5 separate regions of the Homo sapiens genome follow, and all the other regions are linked to region 3. The links are contacts of gene promoters, found by promoter capture Hi-C in human tissues and cell types (Jung and others, 2019). All regions are on one chromosome and are shown on one strand. The core of a region is centred on a gene start or on the middle of the fragment in contact, and the rest is flanking DNA. Distances in the headings are between cores, read along the strand shown.

Region 1 (4,852 bases), core at 1,077-3,576, 370 kb before region 3:
TCAAGCAATCCTTCTACCTCGGACTCCCAAAGTGTGGGATTACAGGCGTGAGCCACTGTGCCCAGCCCACAGGTCTTTCTTCTCTTCTTCCCCTAGAGAGGACATGCAGTTATCCAGCCCAGAGGAAGCCTCCTCCCTCTGGAGCCAATCGTTTAGACTTTCTGGCCATCAATGGTCACAAGCTTTCCCTGTCACTGTGTGAACCTTCCCACCTACCGTCTCCTATAGGAAGCTGGAACCCAGGAGCATAGAACATTACCCCCAGACTACAAGCAGAAGACTAGGCATCCCCACCCCACAAAAAAGACATGAATCCAGGAATCCCAAATGTAGCTCTCTCAACATAAACAGGCCCCTTACCAAGGACTGTCTCCTATAAAGACTTTCTCTTTCATCATAAGTCTCTCCAAAACCTTGCTGCCCGCTGTTCCCATGAAAACCAAGGTCATTTCAAAACTCAGCACACACCGTCCCCTCATACTTCCAATACTTTCTCCACGGTAGTTCTGGTCATAGCCTTCCTCTTCTACTTCCCTATCCACCTCCTCCTCCTCCTTGCCCTGGTGACAGCAACAGACTCAAATCTCATCCCCAGCTACCAACAACTTTCTCCCCCTCCCTTCCTCCATCTTGACTGGGCTCATCATGGAAATTGAGGCACCTGTAAGCCCAGCCCAGTCCCTAAGTTCAGGTCACATTACCTTTTTTTTTTTGGAGACAGAGTCTCGCTTTGTCGCCCAGGCTGGAATGCAGTGGCGCGATCTTGGCTCACTGCAACTTCTGCCTCCCAGGTTCAAGCGATTCTCCTGCCTCAGCCTTCTGAGTAGCTGGGATTACAGGCCTGCACCACCACACCTGGCTAATTTTTGTATTTTTAATAGAGACGGGGTTTCGCAATGTTGGCCACGAACTCCTGACCTGAAGTGATCCGCCCGCCTCGGCCTCCCAAAGTGCTGGGATTACAGGCATGAGCCACCACGCCAGGCCAAAATCGCTTCTTTATTCAGGTAATTGAGCAGGTGCCAGGCCAAGTTTCCTGGCCTCTCCTTCATTCACATGTATTCATTCATTCAAATATTCAAGTGATAATTTATTGAGCATTTACACTGAGACGTAGCCCGTGTGAAATACTGGAAATATGAAAATGGCCAAAACGGTAGCATGACAAGATCCCGATTTCTGGGTCCCTAATCCTTCAGTCCTCTCCACTAAGACTCTCTTGTTCCTCGACAATTTCTTCCCACTAAAGGCTCACTAGGCGCCCTCGCGCTCTCAGACACACTGAACAGGTACCTGCCTGTGCTTCCAGCTTGGAACTCAAGTGCCATTGGCACCACTAACAATCCAAGGCTCCCAAATGGCTCGAAGCGCAAGGTCCTACAACCCTCCTCATCACACACTGGCGCCAAGGACTGCGGAACCGGCCGTTGCGCCAAGATGATTTTGAAAGTTGGAGTTCCTATAGCATGATGGGGCCAGACCCGAGATTCTGGGATCCCAGCCCCCTCCCCGCCTCAGATCCAGAAGTCCAGCCCCCATGTCCCCTTCTCCCCCAGATCTGGGTGGCCGAGCTTCCTCCTCTTTCAGACCCAGGAGTCTGAACCCCCAGATCCCCCCTCCCTCAGACCCAGGAGTCAGGGCCTCCAGCATCCTCCTCTCTCAAACTCGAGACTGCTAGCTCGCTCCTCACCCTCCATGCACCCACACTTACAACGGTTGCCATGATGCTCACCAACTGCCAGAGTCCTAGCGGAAACGGAAACGCGCGAGGAGCGAGATGTTCTGGCTCCTCTAGGCTAGCTGGTTCTTCAAAGATCTCGATGGTTCCTCATAAATATGTAAATATTGTGGGGGCGTGGCGGGACTTTATGCCCCGCCCTCCCACCGAGGCTGCGCTGGAAGACGGGCGTCCGGAACTCCTGGGTCCATTCCCAATGTCTCCTGGCTCCTCCTCCTTTTGCTCAGCCCCACCACCGCCCCGCTCAGGCCGATTGCAAAATTCTTAGCTGTTCTTTGAGTAACCACACGTCCTCCACGCTCCTTTCCTCTTTATCCCACCCTCCTCCTCCTCCCCACTTTGAGGCCTCCAGCTCCAGATTGACAGAGCTGAAGGCCACTCGTTTCCGTAAAGCGCAGCGGCAAGCTCCGCCCCCTGGAGGTCTCACGGCCGAGGCGGGGCCGGGACACAGCGACTCCAACCCGTTCCACCAATGAGGACACGCGGAAATCCCCGCCCCCGGGCGTGGGCCAATGGCGCTGGCTGGGGGGGGCGGCCACCGCCTCCTGGCGGCTGCGAGGTTTCACTGCAGGGGCGCCAGTGGGCTCAGTGACGCTGCGGCCTCCTTCTGCCTAGGTCCCAACGCTTCGGGGCAGGGGTGCGGTCTTGCAATAGGAAGCCGAGCGTCTTGCAAGCTTCCCGTCGGGCACCAGCTACTCGGCCCCGCACCCTACCTGGTGCATTCCCTAGACACCTCCGGGGTCCCTACCTGGAGATCCCCGGAGCCCCCCTTCCTGCGCCAGCCATGCCTTTAAACCGCACTTTGTCCATGTCCTCACTGCCAGGACTGGAGGACTGGGAGGATGAATTCGACCTGGAGAACGCAGTGCTCTTCGAAGTGGCCTGGGAGGTGGCTAACAAGGGTGAGCACGCCAGGCGTCGGGGCCCTTGACGAGAAGGACAGTAGTGGATGGGGGCCCGGAACTCTGAGTTGTAGGAGGACGGGGCTACTAGGGGAACCCTTGTGACCTGGGCAAGGAGGCTGTGTCCTTGAGGAGGGGCTGGGAAGCCGGAGGTGGGTGGGAGAGGGATGGTTCGTTTGACTTAAGATGAAAGGAGGCTGGAAGCCCGGGTTCTGGGTCCTAGGGAAGAGGGCGCTAAAATGAGACTCCTAGGTCCTGGAGGCAGGCTTCCGAGAGACTAGATACCTGGGTCCTGAACAGGGAAGGGGATGGGGGGATGGGATTTCTGCGTGCAAACCTGGGAAGCTGCCGGGGTTTCAGACCTATGACCCTAACAGCATGGTCTAGGGGATAAAACTCCAGATTTGAGAGAGAGCTGACTGGGAGATAGGAGGCCTGAGCGGCGGTGGGAGGACCTGAGGATCTGGCTGCTTAAGAATAAAGATGGGACGGGCTGGAGACTGTAATGAATGCCTGGGCTTTGAAGGAGCTGAGGGCCTGAGCTATTAGTTCCTAGGAGTAGAGGAGCCCATGGCCTGGGACACATGCGTACTGGAATAGGGGAAGGCTGGGAAGTCCTAAGTTAGTCAGAGGCTGGGCCCTAGGATGGGAGGGGCTAGGAGCCTGCATTTCTGTGTCTTGGGCTTCAGAAAGCTGAGGTTCTGGCCTTGGAGAAGGCTGGGGCTGAAATCCCCAGGAACAAGCCAATCTCACACCTCAAAGAGCAGGGTCTGGGGGGTTGCTTTGCTGGGTCTTGGAGGAGAAAGGGACTGTGTCTCCCAGGAGGAGAGGGGGCCCGTGAACACCCAGCCGGGTATCGCCAGGGCCTGGGCTCCAGGATGGGAGGAGGCTGGGGGCTGGGGCTCCTGGGTCTGGGATAGGGTCATGGGAGAGGCAGAGCCCTGCATGCTGGTGTCCCTAGTCAGGGAGAGGAAATTGGGAGGCAGGTCAGCAAGGTCCCTGGGGGCAGGGAATGACCATGCAGGCTTCTCTTGGGCAATGGTGAGAAGCTGGATTGGCCATGAGGGGGTCTCCCTCACTGGGTTTTGGAGCCTGGCTGCGATTTAAACCCAGCTCCTGTGAGCTGGGAACTCGGGAACCTGAGTCCGGGTAGTCAGTCCTCAGCTCTGCCATCCTTAGAGCCCCAGTGCCTAATTCCTTCAGACCAAGGGGTCCCGGCACCCAGCCCCTTCTCTCTCAGACCCAGAAGTCTAGCCTGAGCCCCCTCCTCCTTCAGGGTCCTGACCCCAGCCCCCTTCTCCCTTAGACCCAGGAGGACTGCCCTCCAGCCCTCGTGTTCCCCTCATCCAAGCTTCCAACCCCTACTCCAAACTATGGGCTCCCAGTCCCCTCTTCCCCCTGAGCTAGAGGTCTGGGGCCTGAGTGCCCCCTACATCCCCGGCCCACCCCACCCCAGGCCCCAGAACTATGGACCTCGGCCGGGGCCTGCCCTCACACGCTTGGGCCCACAGTGGGTGGCATCTACACGGTGCTGCAGACGAAGGCGAAGGTGACAGGGGACGAATGGGGCGACAACTACTTCCTGGTGGGGCCGTACACGGAGCAGGGCGTGAGGACCCAGGTGGAACTGCTGGAGGCCCCCACCCCGGCCCTGAAGAGGACACTGGATTCCATGAACAGCAAGGGCTGCAAGGTGGGACGTGGCCCAGCCCAGGGCAGAAGCGGGTGGACAGCCTGCCATCGGGGTGGGAGCCACAGACGGAGAGGGTGCAGGGTGGACAGCCCCAGCCAGAGAGCGAGGCAGGCTTGGACACAGGAAGGAGGCGTGATAGGACACCCAGACAGATGCAGGGCCTGGAAGTGGGTGGGTGGATCCCAGACATGGGCGAATGGACAGACAGATGGCAAGTATGAGACAGACTGAGACGGAGATCCAAGAGGCCAAGGTCCTCAGACCCAGAGAGAAAGAGAGCAAGATCGAAAGACAGCCTGGTCAACATGGCGAAACCCCGTCTCTACCAAAAATACAAAAATTAGCTGGGTGTGGTGGCGGGTGCCTGTAATCCCAGCTACTCGGGAGGCTGAGGCAGGAGAATCGCTTGAACCCGGGAGGCGGAGGTTGCAGTGAGCTGCGATTGGGCCACTGCACTCCAGCCTGGGCGACGGAGCGAGACTCTGTCTCAGAAAAGAATGCCAGCCAGCCAGGCAGAGC
Region 2 (5,079 bases), core at 1-2,500, 310 kb before region 3:
GGGTGGAAGGGAGGCAAAGGAGGAGGCTCTGGCCAGGGGAAGGGGAGACGTGGTCCTGGGGGAAGAGATGACGGGGGCTGGACATTTGGGCCCTGGGAAAGAGAGATCTGGGGGAAAGCCGTTATTAAATCCCCCAATATTGAAATTATCTTCATAGTAGCTTACATCAAGGCCTTTCCAAACCTCAAGACACTCAGGTTTGTGTGGGGAAAAGAAAGAGAGATCAGATTGTTACTGTGTCTATGTAGAAAAGGAATCTGTATCATGAATAAGTTCAAGGAAAGGTGCTGTGACCGGATGTGCACGTAGGCTAGATTTATGTTTCACTTTACACAAACATCTCAGTGTAGCAAAGAGTAACAGAGCAGTATCACTGCCAGCATATCTCGCCTCCAGCCACAGGTAGGTTTTCTCCTATCTCAGAATAGAAGGAATGGGAATGGTCCGCTTTACACTGAGACAGTCCATTCCCAGGGAGAGCAGGAGACAGAAGCCTTCCTCTTATCTCAACTGCAGAGAGGCCTCCCTCTTTCACTACTCCTCCTCAGCACAGACCCTTTACTGGTGTCGGGCTAGGGGATGTAAGGTCTTCCTTTCCCACGAGGCCATATCTCAGGCTTTCTCAGTGGGGGGAAACCCTGGACAATACCCAGGCTTTCTTGGGCAGAGGTCCCTGCGGCTTTCCGCAGTGCAATGTGCCCCTGGTTAATAGAGAATGGAGAATGGCGATGACTTTTACCAAGCATACTGCCTGCAAACATATTGTTAACAAGGCACATCCTGCAAAGCCCTAAATCCATTAAACTTTGATTCAATACAGGACATGTTTCTGTGAGCACACGGTTGGGGCTAAAGTTACAGGTTAATAGCATCTCAAAGCAGAAACAATTTTTCTTAGTACAGTTCAAAATGGAGTTTCTTATGTCTTCATTTTCTACGTAGACACAGTAACAATCTGATCTTTCTTTTCCCCACAGGTTTGCAGAACAGAGATGGAGAAGGAGGTAGCAAGGAAACAGACGTTTCACTGCAATGACGACCCACTCACTAGTCCTGAACCCTAAACTCCCTCCTCCTTTAGACTCTGGAGTCCCGCCCCCCGCCTCCTCTTCCCCAGAATCCGGAGGGCGGGCAGACCTGGTGCTCAGAGCGAGGCAGCGTCTGCAGCACGGCTGTGAAGTCGCTGGAGATGAGGCCGACAGACACGATGCCCCAGCGCAGCGCCATGGTTGCGATGCGGAGCCCTCGGCACCTTCGGTCCCTCCAGGCGCGAATTAAGTACCTGACGCCCCGCCCACCCCGGGGGCGGGTCCCCATCCTCCGCCCGTATTGCGCCTACGCCGATTCTCGTTGGCTCCAGTCGGCAGAGCGGTCATTTAGTTCTAGCTTCCCCGCTGGGCGAATGCACCGTTTAGCTCCGCCTTACAGAGGGAACCACACCTTGACGTCGCTTCTACAGATCTCTTACCTATGACTTTAGGCTCGTCGGATACGCGGGGTAAGGACAGCGTGGGGAGGAGAGGTTTGCTTTCTTGCCAACACCAATCCTTGAGAGTTAGATTTAATGTCTTGCCCTCTGGACTTTGTGGCAAAACTTTGCCCTGACTTTTTTGCTCTCAAAGCCACGCATCATTAGGGGTTGTTCACAGAGAGAGAGAGGATTGTAACAGCAAACTTAATAATTATTACTAATATGTATAGAGCACCTGTAGACCAGCTCCTCAGCTCTGCGCTTTACCTTCTTCGTTCCTAATTTCTCCCCGCAGACCTGGGAAGTAGCTTCTATTGTCCCCAGTTCACAAAGGGGGAAACAGACTCCAAGATCCCTGGTCATTTTTTGGAGGTCTCACAGTCAGGAGGTAAAGACCTGTGAATTGGCTGCTTCCAGAAGCTATAGTTTTAGAAACCAGGCTGCTTTGCTTGTTAGGAGCCCCAGAGCCTGGCCGACTGGTTTCAAAACCCTCCTTGCCCCTTCTTGGCTGTATTGCTTTTGGACAAGAGGTCGCCCTCTCTGGTCCTCACTTTTCTATTCTGGAAAGCAGAGATCATGATAACATCTACCTACATAGGGTTGTGAGGAGGATTCATTGAGCTCTATGGTCTATTATGTAAAATATACTGTATTATTATAATTATTATTGATATAGGGTCTCGCTCTGTCGCCCAGGAAGGAGTGCAGTGGCACAATCATAGCTCACTGCAGCCTCAAATTCCTTAGCTCAAGGAATTAGCTCCTGCCTTAGCCACCCTAGTACCTGGGACTACAGTAGCTGGGACCCAAAGTAGCTACTGGCTACTACACCTGGCTAATTATTTTGTTTTATTTATTAATTATTTTAGAGATAGGGTCTCACTCTGTTACCTAGCTGGACTGCAGTGGCGTGATAATAGCTCACAGCAGCCTTGTACTCCTGGGCTCAAGCTATCTTCCCGCCTCAGCCTCCTGAGTAGCTGGGAGTATAGGCATGTGCCCCACTTACCGCTATTTGTTTGTTTGTTTGTTTGAGACGGAGTCTCACTCTATCCCCAGGCTGGAGTGCAGTGGTGTGATCTCAGCTCACTGCAACCTCCGCCTCCCTGGTTCAAGTGATTCTCCTGCCTCAGCCTCCTGAGTAGCTGGGACCACAGGCGCCCTCCACCATGCCCAGCTAATTTTTTTTATTTTTAGTGGAGACAGGGTTTCACCATGTTGGCCAGGATGGTCTCGATCTCCTGACCTTGCGATTTGCCTGCCTTGGCCTCCCAAAGTGCTGGGATTACAAGCATGAGCCACTGCACCCAGCCTGCTAATTTTTGTTGCTGTTGTTGTTTGTTTTTTGTTTTTGAGACGAAGTCTCGCTCTGTCATCCAGGCTGGGGTGATCATGCAGTGGCATAATCTTGGCTCACTGCAACCTCCACCTCCCAGTTTCAAGCAATTCTCCTACCTCAGCCTCCCGAGTAGCTGGGATGACAGGCGCCCACTACCACGCCCGACTAATTTTTGTATTTTTACTAGAGATGGGGTTTCACTGTGTTGGCCAGGCTGGCCTCGAATTCCTGACCTCAGGTGATCCGCCTGCCTTGGCCTCCCAAAGTGCTGAGATTACCTGCATGAGCCACCATGCCCAGCAATTTTTTGTACAGAAAAGGTCTCACTTTGTTGTCCAGGCTGGTCTCCAATTCCTGGGCTCAAGCAATCCTCCTGCCTCAGCCTCCCAAAGTGCTGGGATTATAGGTATGAGACACTGTGTCCAGTCGATTTTTAAACTTTTTATCAAGGCAGGGTCTTGCCAAGTTTCCCAGGCTGGTTGGGACATGATAATTCCTAACTGGCTGGCCAGCTTCACACAGGGCAGGATATTGTCACTTTCTCTTACTTGGTAGACAATAATTAAGACCTGAGTGTCACACATGGATTCACAGACTTCAAGTTTACACAAACTGCTGAATAGAAACACAAATGGGACCAGGCACGGTGGTTCACGCCTGTAATCCCAGTACTGTGGGAGGCCCAAATGGGAGGAATGCTTGAAGCCAGGACTTTGAGACCAGCCTGGGCAACAAAGCAAGACCCCATCTCTACCAAAAAAAAAAAGTGGGGGGAGGGGGCAGGGCATAGTGGCTCATGCCTGTAATCCTAGCACTTTGGGAGGCCGTGGTGGGCGGATCACTTAAGGTCAGGAGTTCGAAACCAGCCTGGCAAACATGGTGAAACCCCCATCTCTACTAAAAATACAAAATAATTAGCCAAGCATGGTGGCGGACGCCTGCAATCCCAGCTTCTTGGGAGGCTGAGGCAGGTAAATTGCTTGAACCTGGGAGGAGGAGGTTGCAGTGAGCCAAGATCGCACCACTGCTCTCCAGCCCGGGTGACAGAGAGAGACTCTGTCTCAAAAAAAAAAAAAAAAAAAAAAAAAGGTTTAGGGGGAGGGAAATCCACATAGGACACAATATCATTACTATGAAGAAAAAGAAAAAATCATTTAATAATAAATATCAAAAAATAATTTTGATACTCCCAGGTATTTGTCCTAGAAAGAAAAAATAACATGTTTGCACACAAACCAGTGCACAGGTGTTAGCAGCTGTACATAGCTCAAGCCCAAATGTCCTTTAAGCTGCCAGTGGATTCAACAAAATACTACTCAGCGGCCAGGCACAGTGGCTCACACCTGTAATCCCAGCACTTTGGGAGGCCAAGATGGGTGGATCACCAGGTCAGGAGATCAAGACCATCCTGGCTAACACGGTGAAACCCCATCTCTACTAAAAATACAAAAAATTAGCCAGGCGTGGTGGCGGGCACCTGTAGTCTGGAGGCTGAGGCAGGAGAGTGGCGTGAGCCTGGGAGGCAGAGGTTACAGTGAGCCGAGATCACACCACTGCACCCCAGCCTGGGCAACAGAGGAAGACCCGGTCTAAAAAAAAAAATATATATATATAATATATATATATATTTTTTTTTTGAGATGAAGGTTTGCTCTGTCACCCAGGCTGGAGTGCAGTGGTTCGATCTCAGCTCACTGCAAGCTCTGCCTCCCGGGTTCACGCCATTCTCCTGCCTCAGCCTCCCAAGTAACTGGGACTACAGGCGCCCACCACCACGCCTGGCTAATTTTTTGTATTTTTAGTAGAGACAGGGTTTCACTGTGTTAGCCAGGATGGTCTTGATCTCCTGACCTCGTGATCCGCCCTCCTCGGCCTCCCAAAGTGCTGGGATTACAGGCGTGAGCCACTGCGCCCGGCCTAAAATTATTACTTTCTTATTGCTGCACTCCAGCACCTCAGAGGAGGCAAAAAGGTAAACACTGAAAAGAAAATATGCCGGGCACGGTGGCACATGCCTGTAATCCCAGCACTTTGGGAGACTGTGGCGGGCAGATCTCTTGAGCCCAAGAGTTCGAGACCAACCTGCAAAAAATTAGCCAGGTGTGGTGGTGTGCATCTGTATTCCCAGCTACTAGGGAGGCTGAAGCGGGAGGATCGCTTGAGCTGGGAAGGTTGAGGCTGCAGTAAGCTATGATGGCACCTCTGTACTCCAGCCTGGGCAACAGAGTGAGACTCTGTCTCAAAAAAGAAAAAAGAGGGCGGGCGTAGT
Region 3 (4,685 bases), core at 2,186-4,685:
GCACAGCAACTGAGCTTGGGGCCCTGGGAGAAGGAAAGGCAGAGACACTGGGCAAAGAAGCTGAGATTCAAACATAGAGCCTAAGTCACACAGACGAGAGGACAGGGAGGAGGAAAAGGAGAAAGGACCCTGCAGCTCACACACACTTGCTGTGTGACTGCTGGGAAGCCCCTGAATTCTTGGCCTCAGCTGTCCTGTCTGGGAAGTAGGGAGAAAGCTATTCACACTGAAACAGGAATTAAAAGAAATTAAAGAATGTGTAAGCAAAAACTCAGTTGTATGTAAAAAACCCAATTCCCCCTGAGGAAGAGAAAGAGATTGAGTCCTTTATTTTTTTTTATTTTTTTTTTTTTTGAGACGGAGTTTCGCTCTGTCGCCCAGGCTGGAGTGCAGTGGCGCGATCTCGACTCACTGCAAGCTCCGCCTCCCGGGTTCACGCCATTCTCCTGCCTCAGCCTCCCGTGTGTAGCTGGGACTACAGGCGCGCGCCACCATGCCCGGCTAATTTTTTTTGTATTTTTAGTAGAGACGGGGTTTCACCGTGTTAGCCAGGATGGTCTCGATCTCCTGACCTCGTGATCCGCCCATCTCGGCCTCCCAAAGTGCTGGGATTACAGGCGTGAGCCACTGCGCCCGGCCCGAGATTGAGTCCTTTAAAAATTAACTGCCTGTTTTTCTGTTTGTGGCTAGTGAGCCTTATCTAACTCCCTTTCCCAGGCATCGTGAAGACCCTGTTTCTCTAACTGTGCAGCTGCAAGGTCACTAGACAGGATAAACTCAAGTCCTAAAACATGTTTTTCCTTGAAAAGTAAGAAATAATGTAATGCATGTCTCAATTGAATAACTGTCTTTGTTTCTCGCTGCTATAATATGCTTCCCCCTGCACAGATCTCCCCCTACCCCACGAAATACTTAAAATGTAACTTGACTCTTTGTTCGGTGCTCAGTCTTTTTCGATGTTAATCTGACTGGGCCAGTGCACCTAAATAATAAATAATAAGTATCCTCCTCAACCCCTCAGTTTCTCTGATTCCTAAATTATCCCACTGGAACACCTGCCTGGAGAGAAGGTCTGAAATCACTTATGGAAGGGCTCCCAGGCTGGGCGCGGTGGCTCATGCCTGTAAGCTCAACACTTTGAGAGACTGAGGTGGGAGAATCCCTTGAGCTCAGGAGTTCAAGACCAGCCTGGGCAACAGAGGGAGACCTAGTCTCTAGAAAAAATAAAAAAATTGGCCGGGTGCAGTGGCTCATGCCTGTAATCCCAGCACTTTGGGAGGCCGAGGCCGGCGTATCACCTGAGGTCGGGAGTTTGAGACCAGCCTGACCAACATGGAGAAACCTCATCTCTATGAAAAATACAAAAGTAGCTGGGTGTGGTGGCGCATGCCTGTAATCCCAGCTACTTGGGAGGTTGAGGCAGGAGAACTGCTTGAACCCGGGAGGCGGAGGTTGCAGTGAGCCAAGATCGTGCCATTGCACTCCAGCCTGGGCAACAAGAGCGAAACTCCACCTCAAAATAAATAAATAAATAAAAATAAAAAAATTAGCCAGCCATGGTGGAGGCTACTTGGGAAGCTGAGGTGGGAAGATCACTTTAGCCCAGGAGGTTGCAGCTGCAGTAGGCTGTGATTGTGCCACTGCTTTCCAGCCTGGGCAAGAGTGAGACCCTGTTTTTTCTTTTTTTTTTTTGAGACGGAGTCTCACTCTGTCACCCAGGCTGGAGTGCAGCGCGATCTCGGCTCACTGCAACCTCTGCCTCCCGGGTTCAAATGATTCTCCTGCCTCAGTCTCCCGAGTAGCTGGGATTACAGGTGCGCATCACCATGCCTGGCTAATTTTTGTATTTTTAGTAGAGATGGGGTTTCACCATGTTGGCCAGGCTGATCTCGAACTCCTGGCCTCAGGTGATCCGCAGGCCTTGGCCTCCCAGAGTGCTGGGATTACAAGCTTGAGCTACCACGCCTGGCCTCCAATTTTTTTTTTTTTTTTTTAAAGAAAAGCTTCAGATTTTGTCTTTCCACAGTATGAGGATCTTGGCTTTTAGATGGTCCCTTACCTGGTCCTGCTGCTCCTCTGCTTCAAGGTGTCCATTCATCTGCTGGTCCTCTGCTCTGTTACATCAACGGGACCCTGGCCCTGGGTCTTAAGCCATAGTAGGCTGGTAGGAGCAAGGAGTCAGGTCTCACTGTCCTGGCCTGACCTTCAGCTCTGTGGAGGAGAGGTAAGTGAGGAGCAGCATTGACAGCCAACTGCAGGAGGCCCTTCCAGGCTCAATGTGCCTGAGAACCAAGAGGCAGGGGCCTCCCTGGCGGGTGGGGGGAAGAGTAGATAAGTCATTTTAATCACTGCCCCAGCCAGTCCATCTGGTTGCACACAATATGTATGCTATAATAGGAGTGAAGGCTAATTTTTATTGAGCACTTATTATGTGCAAAATATTGACCTCAGCAGTTTTATTAACTTTCATAATCCTGAAAAACACCCCTGTGTGCCAGGCCTGTTGTCATCCCCTTTTTGTCCATAAGGAGAGTAAGGCCCAAAGAAGTTAAGTGATTTTCCCAAGATCACAGAGAGGTTAAATGACTTGCCCAATCACCCCATTAGTAACTAGCAGAGCCAGGATTTGAATTTGGTTATAGCCTTGCAAGGCCCCATCTCACCATCTTTCTTTGCCACTACTTCTCCCTGGGTCTCCATCTCACCCCTCTTTCTAGGTCTCCTTCCTACCCTTTGGGCCTCCATTCCCCCCACCCCCAAGCCACGGAGTCTCCATTTTGCCTCCCCTATGAAACTCTGTCTCCCTCTTTCTAGGTCAGGGAAGGGCCATCTAGGGGCCGGGGGAGAAGGAGAAGCGGAACTCAAAGGATGGGAATACAGGATGCTATAGATTGAGGTGCAGCAAGATCATCTCGGGTTAGACCTTAAGTAGGACTTCCCAAGCAGCGGCTGCGCCTACGAAGTGCAGCGCGAGATCAGGGAGCGGTGAACCTGATAAGGAAACGCCCGAAGCGTGGGGTCGGAAATTTCCAGATGCCCCGACTAGCCCTGCCAGCCCCGCCTCCTCACCTCCAACACTGGGCCCGCCGGGTCCTCCGGGAGCCACTGAGAGGCCGTCGGCGTCGGGCCAGAGCGTCACCGCGCGACGCATCGTGCTAGCTACACGCATCTCGCTCCCAGATCCCTTTCTTCCGGAAAGCTATCGAGAACACGGCCTGGGTAGGGCCAGAGAGGCCCCCGACGTGCTGGCCCTTCCCTCTTGGACGTTGCGCTTGTTCCTGCGCTCTATGCTCTCTGCCGTTATCGCCCGGCTAGTCAGTCGTCCAACTCACCACAGAGAAGTCCGGATCGTGGTAGAGCGCCGCGTCGCACCCATGTGACGTCACGGCGGCGCCACTCGCTTGAGGCTTTCCCCGCCCACCCCAGCCCGTTCTCTCTTTCCGGACCTGGCCGAGCAGGAGGCGCCATCATGGTGAGCTCGCTTTGCGGCGTTCGGGGCTGGATAATCCGCTGCCATCCGCCGTGGTTTTGGGCTAGGGGCACGCTGGAGGGCGGCAGGGGGTCTGCGGCTGCCCGGAGGGAGCAATTCCCGATACTGGGGACCTACTCTGGGGGCCAGGAAAGCAGGGATGGGTCAGTCATAGCCTACCGCCCCCACTTAGTAGATGACCAAGTGGAGGTACTCGGAGGCTGATATGACTGGGTTTACAAAGCCAGGAAGTGGCAGAGCCAGGATTCCGACCCAGGTGGCTGGACCCGCAGCCACTCTTAGTTATTTGGCTTTGCTGCCTTTATCTGGACCTGTCACTTTCTAGTATGAAAAGTCGGGTTCGATGGGGGCCGCGGCGGGTGAGAGGATCGAGAGCCGAATAACTGGATTTGGGGACCAGGCAGGTCTCTGAGTCTCAGGCCCCTTCCCACCTTGTGATGGTTTTTGAGCCTTTGCCCCAGTGTCTGGCTGTTCGTTGGGTACACAGTAATCTCATCTGACAAGTTTGTGAATTTGGGAAGAAATAATTCACAGGAGATGCTCATCACGGGGTTTTGCACACAGTAAGTGCTGCATAAGTGGAGCTATTAAATAGTTCTTGTAATTGTCAACACAGTCTGAAAAACTTAAGTTGCTCAGAAAGGCAGCAGGGCGGTAGGAGCCTGGCGAGGCGGCTCACGCTTGTTATCCTAGCACTTTGGGAGGCCGAGGCGGGAGGATTCCTTGCCCAGGAGATCAAGACCAGCCTGGCCAATATTGTGAGACCCTGTCTCCACTTTAAAAACGATGTTTTAAAAAGACACTATTTGGTAAGGGTTGTTGGATTGACTGATGCTGTAGGAGAGGTGGTTCTAGTAGTATTGCTAGGTTCTGAATAAGGATTCGTTTTCATCATTACTGCCATTGGTTTGATATTTTTGGTTATCCCTCCGGGTATGGGAACCAGTTTTGATAACATTGTTGCAAAATACAAGTTGTAAAGAATTGACCTTTTTGTATTAAGTTAATATGATTGCTGTGTTACGATGTTTCAGGGTTCTGTGTGCCATGGGCTGAAGGCTTTGTAAACAGCCCCTTTTTACAGAGGGATCAGTGGCAGCCCACAGGTCTCCTGGTGGTGGGCCTGGGATTTGAGCTGGTGTGTTCAGACCTGGGCTTGTGTCCCAGCTCTCAGTTTCAGAAATAAGTAATAATT
Region 4 (4,524 bases), core at 175-2,674, 280 kb before region 3:
GCTTCTTTCTCGGAATCCCAGCCTCTTGACGCCACATTTCCCGCCTATGCCAAAAGAGAGAGAAGGCTTTCAAAGATAACTACAACTCCCTGCCGGCCGGGGGAAAAATAACTTCCGCGGGCATCGTGGCCCCTTCGCCTCATGGGAGCTGTAGTTTTCCCATTTATTTTCGCCCCACGAAGTGCCTGGAAGTTATAGCGCGGTAGCAATTGCATAGCCTTTCTTATGAGTTTCTTTCTTCTTCTTCTTATTATTCGAGACAGGGTTTGCTCTGTCACCCAGGTTGGAGTGCAGTGGCGCAATCACTTCTCACTGCAGCCTCTACCTCCCAGGCCCAAGCAATCCTCCCGCGTCAGCCTCCCAAGTAGATGGGACCACAGGCCACACTACCATGCCTGGCTAATGTATATTTTTTAAATTTTTAATACAAATATTTAAATCTTTAATTCTTTTTTAGCCTTTTTTTTTTTTTAACGTTCTGTCTTTCACACTTCTCACACTTTGTTGTTGTTGTTTTTTAAAGAGACGGATGTCAAGCCGGGCTTGGGGGTTCACTCCTGTAATCCCAGCACTTTGGGAGGCTGAGGCAGGCAGATCACCTGAGGTCAAGGGTTTGAGACCAGCCTGGCCAACATGGAGAAACCTCGCCTCCACTAAAAATACAAATTAGCCAGGCGTGGTTGCGCATGCCTGTAATCCCAGCTACTCAGGAAGCTGAGGCAGGACAATCTCTTAAACCCGGGAGGCGGAGGTTGCAGTGAGCCGAGATCGCGCCACTGCACTCCAGCCTGGGCGACAGAGTGAGACTACGTCTCAAAAAAAAAAAAAAATCTCTGTGTTGCTGGTCTGGATCTGGATCTCCTGGACTCAAGCAATCTTGCCTCCCCGTCTCCGCCTCCCAAAGTGCTGGGATTACAGGCGTGAGCCACTGCGCCCCGCCTCTTTTAAGTTTCTTGTAAGCGAGATGTGTACAGTGAGGCCGCGAGGTCTCTGGTCTCCCGCTCTCTCTCTCTCTTTTTTTTTTTTTTTTTGAGACGGTGTCTACCTCTGTCACACAGGCTGGAGTGCAGTGGCGCGATCTCAGCTCACTGCGAGCTCCGCCTCCCGGGTTCACGCCATTCTCCTGCCTCAGCCTCCCGAGTAGCTGGGACTACAGGCGCCCGCCCGCCACAACGCCCGGCTAATTTTTTTGTGTATATATATATATTTTTTTTTAGTAGAGACGGGGATTCACCATGTTAGCCAGGATGGTCTAGATCTCCTGACCCCGTGATCCGCCCGCCTCGGCCTCCCAAAGTGCTGGGATTACAGGCGTGAGCCACCGCGCCGGGCCGGTCTCTGGTCTCTTTAAGGAACCCCCACACGGCATTCGTGTTCAGAACCCCCGGAGCAGGGTTGCCTGGCTGCATCAGTGACCGAGTTCGTTACTTTGTTGGAAGTGGAGAGTGGAGGGTCAGAAGGGAGTGGACCAGTTCAGGTCCCAGAGGGAATCCTCCCTCCCTCTGAGCCGTCTTTCTTCTCCTCCCTATTTCGCAGATATCCCGAGATTAGGTCCCCAGCTTCCAAAGAGAGGATCAGGTATGTTTAGAGATTGGCCAGAGAGGCAAGGTACCGAGGCATCAATGTGAGCAGCCTCTCCAGGCACCTGGTGAGGAGAACAAGTCTCCCGGATCCCAGGCAGGTGGGCAGTGGAGTTCTAGGCCGCTGGGGGCTGGGTGTTTGAAGTGCACAGTCCTGAGTTCTGATGCCTGGGTGCTGGAGAATTAGATATTTGGGGGAGAGAGAAGCGGACTTGCGGACCCCCGTGGGAAGCTGGAAACAGGCTACTAGATCCCGACAGGAGTGGGTGCTGGGATTCGGGCTGCCTGGGTCCGGAAGCAAATTTAAAGGTAAGGATCAGGCCGGGCACTGTGGCTCATGCCTGTAATCCTAGCACTTTGGAAGGCCAAGGCGGGCAGATCACCTGAGGTCAGGAGTCCGGCACCAGCCTGGCCAACATAGTGAAAACCGGTATCTACTAAAATACAAAAAAATTAGGCAGAATAGCGGACGCCTGTAGTCCCAGCTACTCGGGAGGCTGAGGCAGGAGAATCGCTTGAACCCAGGAGGTGGAGGTTGCAGTGGCCGAGATGGCGCCACTGCACTGCAGCCTGGGCGACAGAGCGAGGCTCAGCTGTCTCTAAATACATAAATAAATAAATAAATAAATAAATAAATAAGGCTAAAGATTAGGTGCTGGTGGGCAGGATCCATTGGGATGTTGGTTCTGATCCTGACTCCTCATTCTTGCTTCTGCAGAATGTCTCAGGATAATGACACATTGATGAGAGAGTGAGTAGGGAAACAGATGGGTAGGGGTGGAGGTGGAAAGGGCTGGGGACCCCGTGCACTCGGCTCTGGCTTCATAACCATGTTTGCAGGTTCAGCACCATCGGCCTTGCAGGAAGGGGCTGGGGACCTGGACTCCTGTGTCCTGAAGGGATGGGGCTAGGGTGCAGACTTCTGGGTCTGAAAGAGAAGGGGTTGGGGGCCCCAGACTCCTGAATCCTGAGACAGGAGGGACCTGGGATCTCTGGGTCCCGGCTTCTGTGGGCCAGTGCCAGGAGAAAGGGCCCTATAACTGGTGGAGCAGGCTCAGGTTCTGCACCTCCTGTGACCTCACAGGTGCCCAGAACCCAAGCTGAGATAGGGGCAGGATGGGGGAAGGAGGGACTCTCTTGGGCAACCGAGGTTCCCTGTGCACTGTCACCATGGGCCTGTGTCTCTCTCAGCATCCTGGGGCATGAGCTCGCTGCTATGAGGCTGCAGAAGCTGGAACAGCAGGTATTGTGCCCAGGAATCTCACCACTCCAACTCTTCCGCCTTCTGTGCCTCCCCAGGGGCCTCTCCACCAGGTCTTGCTCTAGGACTCCCAGCCCGTGTTGGCTGTCTCTCATCCTTGAGTTTTCCCACTGAGAAATGAGAAAATAGGAATTTGGGGCCGGGCAGGGCAGCTCACGGCTGTAATCACAGCACTTTGGGATGCTGAGGTGGGCGGATCACTTGAGGTCAGGAGTTCAAGACAAGCCTGGCCAACACGGCGAAACCCCGTCTCTACTAACACACAAAAAATTAGCCAGGTGTGGTGGCAGGCGCCTGTAATCCCAGCTACTCGGGAGGCTGAGGCAGGAGAATCGTTTGAATCCGGGAGGCGGAGGCTGCAGTGAGCGGAGATCGTGGTACTGCACTCCAGCCTGGGCGATAGAGCCAGACTCTGTCTCAAAAAGAAAAAAAAAAAGTAAGAAAGGAAAAAGAAAAGAAAATAGGAATTGGGGGTTCTAAAGAAGCAAACAAACCCTTGTGATGAATTTCTAAGGAACAAGGCTTCTAGAAGGCAGGACTCCTGGGTCCTGGGGGATGAGAGGACAGGGTGTCAGGACTCTTGGATCTGAGTCCAACGGTGGAATAAGGGAGGAGCTGCTGAAGAACTGAGGGCCTGGACGTGTGGGCCCCAGTGGAGGAAGGGGTTCACGAACTCTCGCGCCGATGCGAGCCCTTGCCCCAGGCCCCACCTCACTTCTGTCTTCCCATCTGGTTCCTGTCCCGGACACCCACCTCTCCCATCTCCCCAGCGGCGGCTGTTTGAAAAGAAGCAGCGACAGAAGCGCCAGGAGCTCCTCATGGTTCAGGCCAATCCTGACGCTTCCCCGTGGCTTTGGCGCTCTTGTCTGCGGGAGGAGCGCCTTTTAGGTGACAGAGGTGACCAAAGACCCCTGGGGGCGTTCGCCTGGAGGGGAGGGGCCTGTGGGAGTCTGTGGGCGGGGCCTAGTGGATGAAGGGGTGGAGCCTTAGGGTGGGGACTTGGCAGTGGATGGGGGCGGGCCTTGGCCCAGGAGAGCTTTAGAACAGGGCCTGTGGGCGCCCAGGGGAGAGGCTTGTGGGGGCCCCCCGCGGCAGGACCTGTGAGGGAGGGGTTCGGGGCAGGGCTACAGAGCGCAGGGGCGGGGCATGGTACAACTAGCAGGGGAAAGGGGCAAGAGAATGTGATGATTGGGCTTGGCAGAGCTCGGTGGTGGAGCCTGGGAAAGCCGGGACCCCCACCCCAAACCCGGGATTGCGGAGACGGGGTCTAGGGGTCCGGGGCGGGGCGCGGTCTCATTACGAGAGCCTGGCGCGAGATTCTTTACGTGCGGAGCCCGCAACAATCCAGCGGCAGGGCTGTGCTTGTTTGAGGCTTAGGATGCAGTTTGGGACCTGGGTCTCAAGGTTTGGGCGGTCCGCGAAACAGGGTGATTTTTTTTTCTTTTTTGAGACGGAGTTTAGCTCTTGTTGCCAAAGCTGGAGTACAATGGCAGGATATCGGCTCACCGCAACCTCCGTCTCCCGGGTTCAAGCGATTCTCCTGCCTCAGCCTCCCGAGTAGCTGTGATTACAGGCATGCGCCACCAAGCCCGGCTAATTTTGTGTTTTTAGTAGAGACGGTGTTTCTCCATGTTGGTCAGGCTGGTCTCGAACTCCCGACCTCAGGTGATCCGCCTGCCTCGG
Region 5 (4,846 bases), core at 1,607-4,106, 510 kb after region 3:
CCAGCGTGGAACAGGAGCTTCCGGGCATGAGAGTGTCAGGGTGTCCTGATACTCCCGCAGGGGGGACACAGGGCTCCCAGCTGTCCCCTGCCCCTCACACTCTGTTTCTGCCTCTCACATCTGCCCTCCCTCCTTCCCTTCTCTCTCATCAGGTTCCTCTGCCCTTGTCTCCCACCCGCCCTCTCTCCCCTTCCTTCTCTATCTGCGAGGCTTTGCTCTCTGCCGTGCAAGTCTGTGCCAGGCTTACTTTGCTGTCTGTCACTGTGACTCAGCCTCCCTGTCTCTCTTCCTGTGTCTCCATCATGGTCTCTTGTGCACACAATCTCTTGGGCATTCTGTTTCTATTTGTTGTAGCCCAAGAAGACAACATTGCCTTCCGAGTCTCCTTGGGGCTAGCAGTGGCCCTGTAGCCCTGTGTGGGCAGACCCAGGGGACATAAGCACAGGGGCTGCTGGGGACTTCTGGAGAAACATCTTTCCTGACCAAAAAGGACAGCCCTGGTTGTGGCAGCTCCTCCCCTCCTCCTGCCTTGACTAGAGATGATGGCTGGAGCCAAGTCACCACCTTGTAATGATGAGGAAAAAGAGTAACAAACTCTCCTGACGACCCTAAACCGGCGAACCTAGGGCAGCAGCTGCCTAACTGTGGGCTTTTGTTCATGGGAGTAGGGGAAGAATAAGCCCCAGGGCGATTATGCCACTCTAAAACATGGCTTTCAGCCGGGCACAGTGGCTCATGCCTGTCATCCCAGCACTTCGGGAGGCCGAGGCGGGCAGATCACCTGAGGTCGGGAGTTCAAGACCAGCCTGACCAACATGGAGAAACCCCGTCTCCACTAAAAATACAAAATTAGCCGGGCGTAGTGGCACATGCCTGTTACTCCCAGCTACTCAGGAGGTTGAGGCAGGAGAATCGCTTGAACCCGGGAGGAGGAGGTTGCAGTGAGCCGAGATCGAGCCATTGCACTCCAGCCTGGGCAACAAGAGCAAAACTCCGTCTCAAAAAAAAAAAAAAAAAAAAAAAAGACTTGTTTCTCATAGCTAAGAGTTCCTGATACAGCTCTGCCTTAAAGAACTGGCAAATTAGTGTGCATTTGTGTTTCAATTTCAAATAAAATGTTTAAGGCAAAAAAAAAAAGTAAATGTTGTATGTCAGGGGATCCCCACATTACTGGCTTTGTGTGGAGACCATGGTTCCTTTGGGCTTGGCTCTTCCTCCCTGCACCAGTGCAGGGCCCCAGGAACACATCTGCCACACACGGCCGCCATGTCCCTCTGCTGAAGCTAGTCAGGGTCATCCTCACTCCTCAGTGACCCTCATGATGGCTCCACCAGGTAGGTACTTTTATTCTCCCCATTTAACAGGTGAGGACACTGAGGGGCACAGGGATGTAAGTTACCTTCCCTAGGTCCACTATCTAGGAAGTGGTGGGCCAGGGTTTGGTCCATGCTGTCAGCTCCTTGACCCTGCATCTATAACTACTAACTATACTGTGGAGAGCCTCATGAGCTCCTGCGAGGTGTAGAACCTTATCCCGCAGGCGGGGCAGTGGCATGGTCAGGTCTAGGAGTGAAAAGATCCTGCGATGGTTGGAGTTGCGGGCACTGAAGAGGTGAGCCTGGCGTTAGGGGGAGCAGGGGAGACCATCTTCCCCCTGGTGAAATCCTGTTCTAAAATTGGTGATACTCCTGCCTTGGCCTCCCAAAGTGCTAGGATTATGGCCTCATATCTATTTTTAAAAAATAAGAATTCAAGCTGGGTGCGGTGGCTCGCAACTGTAATCCCAGCACTTTGGGAAGCCGAGGCAGGTGGATCACTTGAGTTCAGCAGTTCGAGCCAGCCTGGCCAACATGGTGAAACCCTGTCTCTACTAAAAATACAAAAATAATTAGCCGGGCGTGGTGGCAGATGCCTATGTTCCCAGCTACTCGGGAGGCTGAGGTAGGAGAATCGCTTGAACCCAGGAGACGGAGGTTGCAGTGAGCCGAGATTGCACCACTGCACACCAGCCTGGGCGACAAAGAGTAAGACTCCATCTCAAAAAAAAAAAAAAAAAATTCAAAACCCATCGAGTTGGGATGACGCTTAGTGCTGGGCTTCAGGAAGAGTAGGCAGGAGGGTAGTATGGGAGGTTTCTAGGAGCCACTCTTGGAAGCGGTGCTCCCCACAGATGCCCGATTGCACTGACTGGAACTCGGTCACATGACCACATAACTCGCTCACATGACCACACCTAGCTGCAAAGGTGCTGGGAAATGTGGTACCCTGTTGGGAGGCCACTTCTGGGCTTCAAACCTTCACTGTGAATGGAGCTCACAGGTTTTCTAAAAATGGACATTAAATGAACCAGAGTTGGCCCTAAGGATCTGGCTCACTGCAACCTCCACCTCCCAGGATGAAGCACCTGCCTCAGCCTCCCGAGTAGTAGCTGGGATTACAGGCACACGCCACCATACCGAGCTAATTTTTGTATTTTTAGTAGAGAAGGTGTTTCACCATGTTGGCCAGGCTGGTCTCGAACTCCTGACTTCACATGATCCGCCTGCCTCAGCCTCCCAAAGTGCTAGGATTACAGGCGTAAGCCACCACGCCTGGCCTCAATATTTCTTTTTCTGGGTATTTGAGTATGATATTATATATGATGGTTATTAGACAGCCAGATGCATAGGAGGATTAGCTAATCTGTTTTGAGGAATACTTATCTCCAATATAGTTATATAACGACAACATTCTTTTTTTGAATACTGGTCTCGGGTGCCTAATGACAGAAGGGTGACATCACTAAGGAAGCCTGGAAAGTCCCAGCCCTCCACGTGATCCCACGGATGAAAATAGCTCCGGGTGAGCTCTGGAACAGCTGAAAAAGCTGGAGCAACCAAGCAGGGCCTACAAGCCGAGGAGGGCTGTTTAAAGGCGCAGGGGCCATTTTACCTCCAGGTTGGCCCTGCTCAGGACCAGGAGGAAACACCTCCAGCCCGCGACCTCCTCCCACAGGGGGAAAAGGAAAGCAGGAGGACCACAGAAGCTTTGGCACCGAGGATCCCCGCAGTCTTCACCCGCGGAGATTCCGGCTGAAGGAGCTGTCCAGCGACTACACCGCTAAGCGCAGGGAGCCCAAGCCTCCGCACCGGATTCCGGAGCACAAGCTCCACCGCGCATGCGCACACGCCCCAGACCCAGGCTCAGGCAAGCCGTGGGGGCAGGGAGGGCTGTTTCATCCCGCTGGGGCGGCCATAACCAAGTACCAGGGATTGGGTGCAATTAAATAACAGGATTTCTTTTTCTTTTTTATTTTATTTTATTTTATTTATTTATTTATTTTTTTTTGAGACAGCATCTCGCTCTGTCGCCTAGGCTGGAGTGCAGTGACGCGATCTCGGCTCACGGCAAGCTCCGCCTCCGGGGTTCAAGCGATTCTCCTGCCTCAACCTCCCGAGTAGCTGGGATTACAGGCGCACACCACCACACCCGGCTAATTTTTGTATTTTTAGTAGAGATGGGGTTTCACCATGTTGGCCAGGCTGGTCTCAAACTCCTGAACTCGTGATCCACCCCACTCGGCCTTCCAAAGTGCTGGGATTACAGGCGTGAGCCACCGCGCCCGGCTAGGAATTTATTTTCTAACACTTCTGGAAGCTAGAAGTCCAAGATCAAGGTGTTGGCAGGGTTGGTTTCTCCTGAAGCCTCTTGCAGAGGCCCTAATCTCTCCTTATAAAACCAATCAGGCTGGGCGCGGTGGCTCACGCCTGTAATCCCAGCCCTTTGGGAAGACGAGGCGGGCGGATCCTGAGGTCAGGAGATCGAGATCATCCTGGCTAACACAGTGAAACCCCGTCTCAACTAAAAATACAAAAAATTAGCTGGGCGTGGTGGCGGGCGCCTGTAGTCCCAGCTACTCCGGAGGCTGAGGCAGGAGAATGGCGTGAGCCCGGAAGGCGGAGCTTGCAGTGAGCCGAGACTGCGCCACTGCACTCCAGCCTAGGGCACAAAGCGAGACTCCATCTCAAAAAAAAATAAAATAAAATAAACCAATCAAACCAAATTCCAGGCCACCCTCAGGACCCCACTTTAACTTAGTCACCCCTTTAAGAGCCTATGTCTGGCCGAGTGCGATGACTCATGCCTATAATCCCAGCGTTTTGGGAAGCCAAGGTGGAAAGCTCTCTTGAGCCTAGGAGTTCAAGACCAGCCTGGGTGACATAACAAGACCTGATCTCTACAAAACATAAAAAATTTAGCTGGAGATGGTAGCATGTACCTGCACTTCCAGCTACTCGGGAGGCTGAGGTGAGAGGCTCGCTTGAGCCCAGGAGGCTGAGGCTGCAGTGAGCCACGATCACACCACTGCACTCCAGCCTGGGTGACAAAGCAAGACCCTGTCTCAAAAAGCAAACAACGAAAAAGAATCCTATGTCCAAATACAGTCACATTCTGAGGTTCTGGGGGTTACAAGTCCAACATATGAATTTGGAGGTGGTGGGGGGAAGCTGATTAATTTCATAAGGGGGGTCTTGAAACTGCCTTCGCAGAAATGTAAGTAATGAGAGAAAGCTAACATGACTGACCATCTTGTTTCTAACCTCACAGGCTAGATTTTTTTTTCTTATTCTAGTGCAGAGGCCAAAATTACCATGAGAGGAATTTAATTCATAGTTAAACTTTGAGACAAAGAAAACTGACCCCCAGTCCTTGTTGAGAGATTGAAGCCACATTCATTTACTTTTTATTTATTTATTTAGTTTTGAGACAGAGTTTCACTCTTGTTGCCCAGACTGGAGTGCAATGGCATGATCTCTGCTCACTGGCACCTCCACCTCCTGAGTTCAAGTGATTCTCCTCCCTCAGC

The links. Contacts are between HindIII fragments. The study calls those that stand out against the background at their distance.
Region 1: a contact is called between the fragment with the promoter of GYS1 here and the fragment with the promoter of RPL18 in region 3, in 1 of the 25 tissues and cell types used here (spleen).
Region 2: the fragment with the promoter of DHDH here is called in contact with the fragment with the promoter of RPL18 in region 3 in 2 of the 25 tissues and cell types used here (pancreas and spleen).
Region 4: a contact is called between the fragment with the promoter of TULP2 here and the fragment with the promoter of RPL18 in region 3, in 1 of the 25 tissues and cell types used here (psoas muscle).
Region 5: the fragment with the promoter of PLA2G4C here is called in contact with the fragment with the promoter of RPL18 in region 3 in 1 of the 25 tissues and cell types used here (dorsolateral prefrontal cortex).

The regions. Positions count from the first base shown.
Region 1 is chr19:48,990,783-48,995,634 of GRCh38, reverse strand. It overlaps GYS1 (glycogen synthase 1), which reads left to right and starts at 2,326. Exons shown (of 16, transcript NM_002103.5): 1 at 2,326-2,640; 2 at 4,152-4,333. The coding sequence starts at 2,523. It overlaps RUVBL2 (RuvB like AAA ATPase 2), which reads right to left and starts at 1,748. Exons shown (of 15, transcript NM_006666.3): 1 at 1,712-1,748. The coding sequence starts at 1,723. RefSeq lists enhancers at 1,850-1,939, 2,630-2,769 and a silencer at 2,060-2,419. The HindIII fragment of the contact is 7,369 bases long and covers 1-3,202 here.
Region 2 is chr19:48,929,870-48,934,948 of GRCh38, reverse strand. It overlaps DHDH (dihydrodiol dehydrogenase), which reads right to left and starts at 1,250. Exons shown (of 7, transcript NM_014475.4): 1 at 1,138-1,250. The coding sequence starts at 1,227. RefSeq lists an enhancer at 1,176-1,677. The HindIII fragment of the contact is 30,682 bases long and covers 1-5,079 here.
Region 3 is chr19:48,617,928-48,622,612 of GRCh38, reverse strand. RPL18 (ribosomal protein L18) reads left to right here and starts at 3,435. Exons shown (of 7, transcript NM_000979.4): 1 at 3,435-3,472. The coding sequence starts at 3,470. It overlaps SPHK2 (sphingosine kinase 2), which reads right to left and starts at 3,107. Exons shown (of 7, transcript NM_020126.5): 1 at 3,070-3,107; 2 at 2,060-2,211. The coding sequence starts at 2,098. RefSeq lists enhancers at 2,764-2,853, 3,014-3,693, 3,964-4,685. The HindIII fragment of the contact is 9,176 bases long and covers 1-4,685 here.
Region 4 is chr19:48,895,644-48,900,167 of GRCh38, reverse strand. TULP2 (TUB like protein 2) reads left to right here and starts at 1,424. Exons shown (of 13, transcript NM_003323.3): 1 at 1,424-1,578; 2 at 2,299-2,331; 3 at 2,772-2,823; 4 at 3,612-3,738. The coding sequence starts at 2,300. RefSeq lists a cis regulatory region at 680-1,679, enhancers at 1,214-2,029, 4,477-4,524 and a silencer at 3,911-4,050. The HindIII fragment of the contact is 17,343 bases long and covers 1-4,524 here.
Region 5 is chr19:48,108,827-48,113,672 of GRCh38, reverse strand. PLA2G4C (phospholipase A2 group IVC) reads left to right here and starts at 2,856. Exons shown (of 17, transcript NM_003706.3): 1 at 2,856-3,186. RefSeq lists an enhancer at 2,881-3,040. The HindIII fragment of the contact is 42,556 bases long and covers 1-4,846 here.